Regions from separate parts of the Homo sapiens genome. Here region 2 is linked to region 1. Evidence: promoter capture Hi-C in 16 types of primary human blood cells and fetal thymus (Javierre and others, 2016). All regions are on one chromosome and are shown on one strand. Each heading gives the region's core, a stretch centred on a gene start or on the middle of the fragment in contact. The rest is flanking DNA. Distances are from core to core; before and after follow the strand shown.

Region 1 (5,208 bases), core at 1,010-3,509:
ACCTTCTTTTTCAGAGCAGGGAAACATAACGGGTAAGCGGGTACGCTTTTATTTCAAAAGTAAATTTGTTTATTAAGAAATTAAAGAAGCTTTCCGCAAAACAAGATGTTTAAACAATAAGGTGTGATTGGTCTTTTATTTATTGTACAAATATTTGGCACTACTATGTGCCAGACACCGGACTGAAGACGTTTGGTAAAACTTTCAACTTCTCTGAAGCCGAGAATAAGATTTTCAATTAAATTTACATGTGTCTATTACATTTGTCTTTCATTTCTGCCTGAGTAGCCGGGAAAACACATTAGACAGGTTCCTTAAAAACTAAAGTAAAATTTGAAGGAAGGAATAATTTCGGTTTAAACTAGTGATCATTCCCAACAACTCCAAACACCACATTCACTGTCTCTTACAAGGCATTTTATGTTACACCAATTACTAGTTTTAGCTTCATCCTATTACGATTTGAAGCCTGGTAACTCGGCAGGCATAAGCAAACCCACAAAAAGCATATTAAAATCCACAGGTAAAAAAGCAAACTATTCTGAAACAAAACATGCTTTGCTGGAGCCGATTTGAGATTTAACCAGGATCAGACATTCCAAATTGCAATACTGATGCACCAGAATGTCATGAAATAAATTTTTCCTGAATCCTAAGTCTTTCGTTTCCTCAAGCAAAATTTACCAATATGTGGGGAAAACGCAATCCAAACTGCAATTTTCAAATATTTGTTTGCAGGGCCGGGCCCGGTGGCTCACGCCTGTTATCCCAGCACTTTGTGAGGCCGAGGCGGGAGGACCACCTGAGGTCAGGAGTTCGAGACCAGCCTGACCAACTTGGAGAAACCCCGTCTCTACTAAAAAATACACAAATCAGCCGGGCGTGGCGGCGCATGCCTGTAATCCCAGCTACTCGGGAGGCTGAGGCAGGAGAATCGCTTGAACCCGGGAGGTGGAGGTTGCGGTGAGCCGAGATCTCGCCATTGCACTCCAGCCTGGGCAACAAGTGCGACACTCCATCTAAAAAAATAAATAAATAAAAACTAAAAAATTATAATAGGCGCCTAAAAATATAGTTTAAAATGCTCCTTTTAATTCGGCATGAACCTGTTCCGCCAAAAGATGGCCTGTTGCTGGGAAAAATTAAAACAAACTAGAAAACATAAACGGTTCAAAAAGCCCTCCACACGCAAAAGTATAAAAAGGCGGGAATTTCCTCATTTCAAATTTTGGTTAGAAATTAGAGTGTCATCAGTTGCCCTCCAGGGAGCGCTCTGAGACTCTGCTGCGAGTCATTTCAGTTAATAAAGCGGGAAAACGCTCGAACTTAACCTATAGCATTTTGGGGCCACCCCTCCAGAGCTTTCGAAAGGGCACGGAAGTCCCCGTCTAAACGCCCGCTGCAGGCGGCTGGTGGTCCAGGGAAGCGGCGTCGACTGCGTGCAAAACAACCGCCGCCAACGCAACTCCACACCTCCCAGACCCACACGTCAAAGAACGCGAACCCCGCGGCCCCAACTTCTGGCCTCTCCGCTCCGGCGCCTGCAGCCCCGCGGGGAAGGGGCGACGCGAGGGGGCGCAGGGACAGCCCCGCACCTGGGAGGCCCGAGGGGGCGCCCGGGAGGGAGGGGCTGCAAACGGCGGCGAGCGCGCGCGGCAACCGCCAAACGCCCGCCTTTGTAGCCCCGGCCCCGCGTCCTTACCCTGCCGACGGCTGCTCGGCTCCGGCCCGCGGCGGCGGCCCCAGAGCCGAGGACCGGGGTGGGCTCGCGCTCTTCGTCACTGGAGAAGTCCGGGGGCCCCTTGCTGTTGGTGCCGGCGGGGAGCGGCGGCCGGTTGCGAGCCGTGAGGTGCTGCAGGTAGAGCTGGACGTACACGTCTTTGCGCTGCTCCCCGGCCGGCAGCGTCACATTGTTGGCGACCAACTCACTCTTCAACTTGTCTTTTGTCAGGACCGAGGGGTCTTCCAGGAACTCCGGCATCTCGGGGATCTGCGAAGCCCCCTCCCCACAGCCTTTGCCGCCGCCGCTCACGCCGGCGCGCTTGCTCCTGGCCGGGGACCGCGCTGCCGCCTCCGAGCCTCACGGCTCCTGCCCGGGAAGAGCGCTGCGGAGCGGAACAAAAACTCGCGGACACAAAGCCAAGCCAGACCCGGACACAAAAGACCCCAGAGCCGAACTACGAACCAACTGCGGCCAAGCTGGAAGCTCGCACCAACCCCAGCCCACACACTACAGGCAGGAGGCGAGCAGCCTGCTTCGCCCACGCCCCAAGAACGCGCGCCGCCATTGGCGGGCGACGGGAGGAAGCGCGGCGGTGATTGGCGAGACGGCTCGCGCGGGTTCCATTAGCCGCCGCGCTGAGCGAGAGGAGGTAGAAACGCAGTTTAAAAGGCGCTGGGGCGGGAGCCGAGGCTCCCGGCCCGCTTCTGTTTTCGTTTTCTCCACCCTTCCCCTTAGACGCCGATAAGGGACAGGTCGTACTGCTTTTGTGCGCCGTTTCCTCTCCCTCCCCCAGCTTGAGAAGCAGCTTTCGTCTCTGGGGTCGATCGCCTACGAACGCGCCGAATTCCACGCCAGTGTGAGGACCCTTGGCTGGGCCTTTCTTCCTCCCGGGACACTGAAGCTCCAAGAGTAGCCGCAGCCTTGCCTTCCCCAAACGCTAGCCCTGAAGGGGAAGAAAAGAAGCGAGGCTTGTCTGCAGGCACTCATATTCCTTGATTTGATTTACTTTGGGAGGGGGAGGGCGGGGAGTTACCCCTCTCCTCGCGAACGCTTCTTTTGTTCCAGAAACCCAGGGGAAGCCAGACCTCTACAATCGGGCACTTAAATTACCCTTGAATTTGTGACAAAAGTGTACTATACCATTCACTTCTTAGTGTCATAGTTGGGGCATGTCTAAATTGTTTAATTTGAACAGTGCGTTCAGACGCAAGACAAATTCGCGCTTGCATTTTTGTTGAAACCGTCTCTGGCTTTGGATCCCACCACCCGCAAGAATCCTAAACCTAACGTTTGATAACAAAACGAAGGAGAACCCTTGGGAACCCCCTCAATGGTCAATTTAAAATAACAGATGGTGCATAATCCTAAAGGAAGACTAGTGACCTATAATTAGGCCTAGAACCCTAATCAAACCCGTATTACCGATCCAAATTAAAACCTGGTAGAATCTAATACATTGACTGCAATTAAAATGTTTGCCTGGAAATTAGTATCACTGATGACAAATATTTGTATTTCTGATGAATATGTATGTTTAAAGATGCTTTCTTTCTAGAAAGGAAAGGAGACCTTGGATGTAGGGTGTGTTAATCATTTCCCCAGAATCTGAGCTCCAAACTATGTTTTAGAAACTGGTTAAATTTTTTTTAAATGTTTGCCTGCTTTCTACATTGCTAGGTTAGAATACATTTAAAACAAACGCCTTCACTAAAAATGTTTCCTATGATTTAAGCGACTTACTTTTATTCAAATTGCGATATTATTTCTTTTAGTGATAATTATTTTCCTAGAGGTAACTAATTCCTTTATAAAAATCTCAGTATTCACATACATTTAAGCAATGGTATTAAGCTCAATAATGCAAATTAAAAATCAGGTTTTAATTAGCAAGTTGTTAGGTAGGTTTTTATGATCCCTTGTAAAAGTTGCTTGGTTTTTTGTCCTCACAGCTTCCCTGGACACATAGGCAAATGTTTTTATCTTCAGAAGGGGAACTGAGCTGAGAGGCAAAGGACCATGACTTTGCAATGACTGGTAACCCAGTACGTATAATGCAAGAACTGCATTCTAGATACGCCTGAAATTAATGTTTCCTGGGCAAAAACATTTTCATTATCTTTTTTTTAATCCCTGGACATTAGCTACAGGTGGTTACTTGCAGATTTACTGCTGTAGAGCTCCAAAATTGAGATTACACTTTTCAGATTCTGCGTACCCTAAGGCTAAGAGGTTGGGCTATTGAGTTTGGGTGGTCTCTTTGGTCCTGATTGCTACTTCCAAACCATTTCTGCTCTTTTCTGCTTCAAAAATATTTGAAGTTCATATCTTCTGGCTAAATCACTTTCTACTCTCCTTCCTGCCATCATCCACGAGCCTCCTGGTCACTTTCCAGAAATTATAGAGCTGCTTGCCGTAGGTTTTCCTCACCATCCCTCTTGTCTACATTCTATCTGAATTCAGCATGCTTGTAGGTGACCCATGCAACACCAACACTTGGCCTCTTAGACCTCTGACCTCTTCATCTCCAACAATTTGTTCCTCTCTTGCGTCTTAACCACTTCGGTATCAGTCAGATTCTGAACCTTGTCATCAGTTGAAATCTCAGTTTCAAGCTTCCCAATTGTCAATCACTAGCCTTTTTTTCCCAGCTAATTTATGGTACTCTCACTTACCTAATTAAGACCTCCACGCTATTAACCCCAACACTTAAAAAAACTCAACTCTTCTGCTTCTGCCATCATGTAATAATTTTGCAACTCACCTGACTTAAATTCCCTGATCAGTCCTTTTCATCACTCTTTTACAAACATTTTCAACTCTCTGATCTCAATGTCTCCTTTTTTGCTTGAAAGAATCTCAGCCTTGCTTGGACTAAACCATGCTCCAGCTGAACTTTCTCATTGCTTACATCCAAACAGCAAAAGCTGCTGGAGAAAAGTCAGTCATATAACAAGCTAACTGGTTTTAATTCATGACCTCAGTCCTCTCAGGAGCACTCAACACTGGCTGGCAATGCTATTCCAGTCTCTGGGTTAACCATTCATACGTTCACATCTCCTCAAATTTCACATCCTTTTTCCCTACCTCTCATTTTTAGCTGGTGACCTTGCCTCAACTTCAAAAAATAAAAACCACCTATGAGGAATGCTTCAACGTCAGACTTTCCAATTTGCATTCATTTTCTCTTGCATTTTTCTTTTCAGTGAAAGATGTGTCCTGTCAGAAGGAAATTCCACCACTTGTACTCTGGCTCTCACCCTTCTCAAGGAATTGACTCTTTCCATCATCTCCTTAATACTTGTTTCAACATAAAAGATAATTTTTAAAATATTTGATCAATGTGACACAAAAAACACAAAGGCTGAGCACTGTGGCTCACGCCTGTAATCCCAACACTTTGGGAGGCTGAGACAGGCGGATCCCTTGAGCTTAGGAGTTCAAGACTAGCCTGGGCAAAACAGTAAAACCCCCTCTCTACAAAAAAA
Region 2 (5,208 bases), core at 2,012-4,511, 3.0 Mb after region 1:
GGTATAGAGAGTAAAAGGAACAGGCCGGACACAGTAGCTCAAACCTGTAATCCCAGCACCTTGGGAGGCTGAGGTGGGCAGATTACTTGAGGTCAGGAGTTCAAGACCAACCTGGCAAAACCCCATTTCTACTAAAGATACAAAAAAATTAGTTGGGCATGGTGGCAGGCGCCTGTAATCCCAGCTACTCGGGAGGCTGAGGCAGGAGAATTGCTTGAGCTCGGGAGGTCGCAGTGATCCGAGATCACGCCACTGCACTCCAGCCTGTGCGACAGAGCGAGACTCGGTCTCAAAAAGAAAAAAAAAAATAGAGAGTAAAAGGAACAAACGTGCAGTCAGGCACTAGGTTTGAAATTCTGGCTCTATTCTACACATATTAGCTATGTCACTTTGGGTAAATCATGTAACTACCACTTCCCTATCTGTAAAATGAGATGGCTGGGTAAAGCCATGAAGGGCTGGGTAAAGTCAAAATAAATAGGAAAAGACAGTCCATTACCAAAAAACAAAATGGATATCTAAGCACAAGTAGGTTACTTTGCTTGGTTTTGTGAGGTTAAAATGTGAATGTATGTGAAAATAACCTAGGAAAGTATCTAGTACATAGTAGTTCTTCAGTAAGTATTAGTTAAATAAACAACCCCTCAATCTTATTAATACTCACTACTTTGCCTTCTACCAAGTATATTTTTAAACTCTGAGATCTGTCCTATCTGAACAGCTAATTAACACATTGAACTTTTTCAAGACTTGCTAATAAATACCTTTTCCTTTTTAATCTGTGACATTAATTGAGGTAACAAGTGAAATGTCAGAGAAAACACTATACGAGTAAATAAATTTTGATTAAGGAATATCACATTTTCTAGCTTTTCTTTCTTTCTTTCTTTCTTTCTTTTTTTTGAGACAGTCTTACTCTGCTGGCCAGGCTGGAGTGCAGTGGTGCAATCTCAGCTCACTGCAACCTCCATCTCTCGGGCTCAAGCAATTCTCCTGCCTCAGCTTCCCAAGTTGTTGGGATTACAGGTGTGTGCTACCACACCCGGCTAAATTTTTTTTTGTCTTTTTAGAAGAGATGGGGTTTCAACATGTTGGCCAGGCTGGTCTCGAACTACTGACCTTATGTAATCCACCCGCCTCGACCTCCCAAAGTGCTGGGATTACAGGTGTGTGCCACCACACCCGGCTACATTTTCTAGCTTTTCTAACCACAAAGATCAAATTAACCATTTACCTTCATCATCTTCATCTCTTTCTTTATCTTCCAATGCTGATCTTTCCAACTGTCTTGCTACTTCATCCACTGAGGCTCCTGATTCTTTATCAGGTTCCTGTTCCCCTGCTGATCAAAATAAAATAGCAGAAATCAAATCTAATACAGACACTTTCCCACTAGAATATGCTCTAATGATCTTGGAAAACTTACAAATCCTTTCCTCAGGAAACAAAAACAGAAACATTATTGTGAACATAACAGAATTCGTTTAATGACAGAAAAATCTTCCATACCTACACAGTATTGTCCATTCATTAATTTACTCAACAAAATATCCATTACACACACTAGCAGCTAAAAGATAAACAGCGTGAACTGGTCTCTATCCTCAAGTAGTTTAACTTGTAATAGTGGTCAGCAATTAGACTTAACAAATACTTAAACACCAGATAGGTAATAAATGCTGAAGGCCTTAGGAAAAAGATTCATGTGCAACACCCCGGGGCAGCCTGGTTTCATGAATAAGGATATCACGATGGGCTGGGTAAAGTCAAAATAAATAGGCAAAGACAGTCCATTACTAAAAAACTAAAACGCTCAAATATCTAAGCACAAGACCAGGCCCCTGCTCTGGAAGTGATTATAACCTACCTATAAGAGCAATATGTTACATGCATTAATAGTATCAGGTAGCACGAAATGAAGTGACATTCTGGCTACTGGAGAGAATTCATATTAAGAAATACAACTGTTAAAAATACATTAGGATCAGTCAGCTTAACACCTTACAAGACAAACAGCAGTGTTTGAATTTCACTCGAAATCCAGGAACAGCCACCAGAGTAACAAATTTTGCTCTGGAAGAGTTCCAGCAACGCTACAACTCTCCTTCCATTCCTATCTAATCAAAATTTCAGAAAGATGAAGATTAGCTCTCTTCGACCTCTCTCAATTCCATCTTAATCGCTTCTGACTTCTCCATTTTCTGTTTCTCTGGCGATTTTAATTAGAAACAAGTAAAAATAATTTTTATTAAGGTGAAGGAGCTTGTGCAGCAAAAACACAGACTTCTCAAAATATGTAAGTTCCTAGTTCATAATATCCAACTGTAAACTCTCAGCAGTTCTCCTTGCCTTACCAGTGGATTTAGAGGTTAAGACCTCAGAAGTTCCATTCTGAGCCACAGAATATCCTATCTGCACTGCCTGCAATTGGTATCATAATTCAGGTCTAAAGGCCCTAAAGCTTGGCGATGCTATGGGATTAGGCAGGTGAAAATTCGTTATCACCACCACAAATTCTGCAATTAATGACATGAGCGCGCGGGCAAACACACATGTACACACACCCCAAAAGTGCAGGCTGCAACAACCCCAACGTGAAACGGGATAGTGGGAGGAGGTGTGCTCTCCATTACATTTGCCCACCCCCAAAGAAAATAAGTCCTAGCTTGCTCCAGCAAACCAGCAAAGACGCGGCAATACGGATCAGAATCGGATTTTTGAGGCGGCGGCCAAATCGCGCGAAAGATGGTAGGGCTGTGCTCTGCGCACAATCTCAAGACCGTGCCACGATGTGCGTGGGAGCTGAGTTCTGGTAATACAGGGGCTCGGGCCCAGCGACCCCAGAGGTACCACACGCCAACCTCAGGCACTCTTTTCTCCCCCACCAGCCCTCTAGTCCCACAGGAGGAGATGACGCCTCTTCTCAGACTAGGAATCTATAGCCCGGCTTTGCCACCCTGTCAGGCCCAAGAATCAGTCTAGTCGGGGCTCTGGGGCCCCGGTCCCGGCCCCCTCAACGGGCCTGAGCCAAACAGTTCAGCCGTTCCCGGAGGGGACTGGGAAAACATAAAACTCTCTTTACCTGCAGAAGGCCCTTTGCTCTTCTTCTTCTTTCGTCTTTTTTTCTTGGCTGCTTCCTCAGCCGTAGAGGCAGCTCCTTCTTCCCTGTCGTCTGGATCCAGGTCGCCATTCAGGTGGCTCCCGGAGGCCGCTACCTCCTCCACACCCGCCATGTTGCCCGAGAGAGCGCGAGGGAATGAGACAGAGCGGCGAGGGCCCCGATCCTTCTCCACCCGCCTACACCAGCCACGCCGGAAGCTGCTCTCGATGGTAGGGACGCAGGGAATGCTGGGACGGCGGAGGACTCAGCTGAGGGTGTCGGGCTAGCTTCGGGCCGGGCGTGCAGGAGTCTCGGCTTGGAGCCCCGCCTGGCTGGAGTCGACTGGGGCCAGACCCGACTGCTTCGTCCGGTGCCTCGGGCATTCCCGAAGCAAATCGGCAAGCGCAGGGTGAAGTTTAAAGGGGAAGTTGAGCTCTAGAGTCAGCCGGAGATACCTGTGGAGACGGGCAACCCGCCGTAGCAAGCGGCGTCTCTGCTGGAACGGAAATATTTTATATTTGCGTTTTTATAAATCACACAGGCAGTGGGGAAACGGGCTAAGAAATGTGTTCACTTGTACACATTTCTATTGTCATGACTCCACATATCTCTTAAATCTAAGAGATTTAATCAAATCTGCGTTGACATTCACAATCACAGCTCTCCGCGAGGCTCTGTAGGCACTGGAGAGAATTTTGGAAGCTGGAGTTCCGTGTTAGTTTATTGTACTACTCAACCCCGGACGGTTCAAGATGGGAACCCGTCACACTCCGCTCACTTTCCAATTCAGGACAAGAATGACAGGTTTTAACACACGGGGACACGGTCTCTCTCATTAATGCAAAAGATCACACTCCGTTTTCTCTATTTCTGGTCACCTTTCTTTTGGATTTAGGACGTTTCACCAGAAACTAATTGAATTTTGCCCATTTCTTTACTTCTTATGTTTTGAGCCTCATGTTCAAACCGCAGTTTGAGATTTAGTTTGTGGCGTAAGTGGATTGTGATTGGCTGCCTGCACCAACTCCTTCTCAATTTCTCCTGAATATGGCTTTGTCCACCTGGAGAGTTTAGGTGTTTTCATTAGTTTTAAACTAGGCACCAAGCTTCATGGGCATCAAAATGTCGTTAAGAGCCTTATTGCCAGTGAGTTTACAGTAAACCTCACACAGGCTCTGACTGCAGCTGCATAAATGTACATTCTCTGTCTTAAAGCTTCAGGCAGCACCTATCCAATAGTAATAAAAACTGTTCCTCTTATTCTTGTACAGATCTTTATCTCTTTAAATCTATCCCTATTTAGATTTTAAATTGTTTTCCCTAGTTGATTGCTGGCAATATAAAAGTTGGTAAACCGGCCGGGCGCTGTGGCTCACGCCTGTAATCCCAGCACTTTGGGAGGGCGAGGTGGGCAGATCACAAGGTCAGGAGTTCGAGACCAGCCTGGCCAATATGGTGAAACCCCGTCTCCACTAAAAATACAAAAATTAGCCGGGCGTGGTGGCAGGCGCCTGTAGTCCCAGCTACTAGGGAGGCTGAGGCAGGACAATCGCTTGAACCCCGGGGGAGGTTGCAGTGAGCTGAGATTGCGCCACTGCACTCCAGCCTGGGCGACAGAGCGAGACTCCATCCCCCCCAAAAAAGTAAATAAAATAAAAAATAAAAAGTTGGTAAACCAAACATAATACCACAAAAATAAAAATAGAAGTAGCTTCCATGTGTCCAAAATCCTTTAAAATGCCCGGCAAGACCCAGCCATATCTACTTCTCCAATGTCTCCACTCTCTTACTATTATAGCTCCAGCTCTCAAAGCTCTTTCTGACCTTGGAGCATTTCAAACTCACTGTTACTTTTATCTGGGCTGCTCTTTGCTTGGCTGACATATTCACTTATTCACTCATCCATCCATTCGTTCAATGCCTACTATAAACCTAGATCTGGCAATATTTAGAGAGCAAAAACAGAGATGATCCTTGTCATCATAGAGCCAGTTAACAAAAATAGACATCAAGCAATGATGCTAATAAAAGCAAATTTACAACTGCTGCTATGAGAGCATATTACAAAGGGACTTGCCTAGGTAGGATGGCCTGGTAGAGTTTCCTGA

The links. The method cuts DNA at HindIII sites, captures the fragments that hold promoters and counts their contacts. A CHiCAGO score of 5 or more calls a contact.
Region 2: a contact is called between the fragment with the promoter of METAP2 here and the fragment with the promoter of TMPO in region 1, in 3 of 17 cell types (activated CD4 T cells, non-activated CD4 T cells and naive CD8 T cells). The highest score is 8.5, in activated CD4 T cells.

Annotation. Positions count from the first base shown.
Region 1 is chr12:98,512,641-98,517,848 of GRCh38, reverse strand. TMPO (thymopoietin) reads right to left here and starts at 2,259. Exons shown (of 9, transcript NM_001032283.3): 1 at 1,703-2,259. The coding sequence starts at 1,981. It overlaps TMPO-AS1 (TMPO antisense RNA 1), which reads left to right and starts at 1,623. Exons shown (of 2, transcript NR_027157.1): 1 at 1,623-1,858; 2 at 1,952-4,876. RefSeq lists a silencer at 1,500-1,769 and enhancers at 2,110-2,299, 2,560-2,639. The HindIII fragment of the contact is 4,246 bases long and covers 92-4,337 here.
Region 2 is chr12:95,472,205-95,477,412 of GRCh38, reverse strand. It overlaps METAP2 (methionyl aminopeptidase 2), which reads right to left and starts at 3,261. Exons shown (of 11, transcript NM_006838.4): 1 at 3,083-3,261; 2 at 1,235-1,342. The coding sequence starts at 3,233. RefSeq lists an enhancer at 3,045-3,444. The HindIII fragment of the contact is 1,745 bases long and covers 2,464-4,208 here.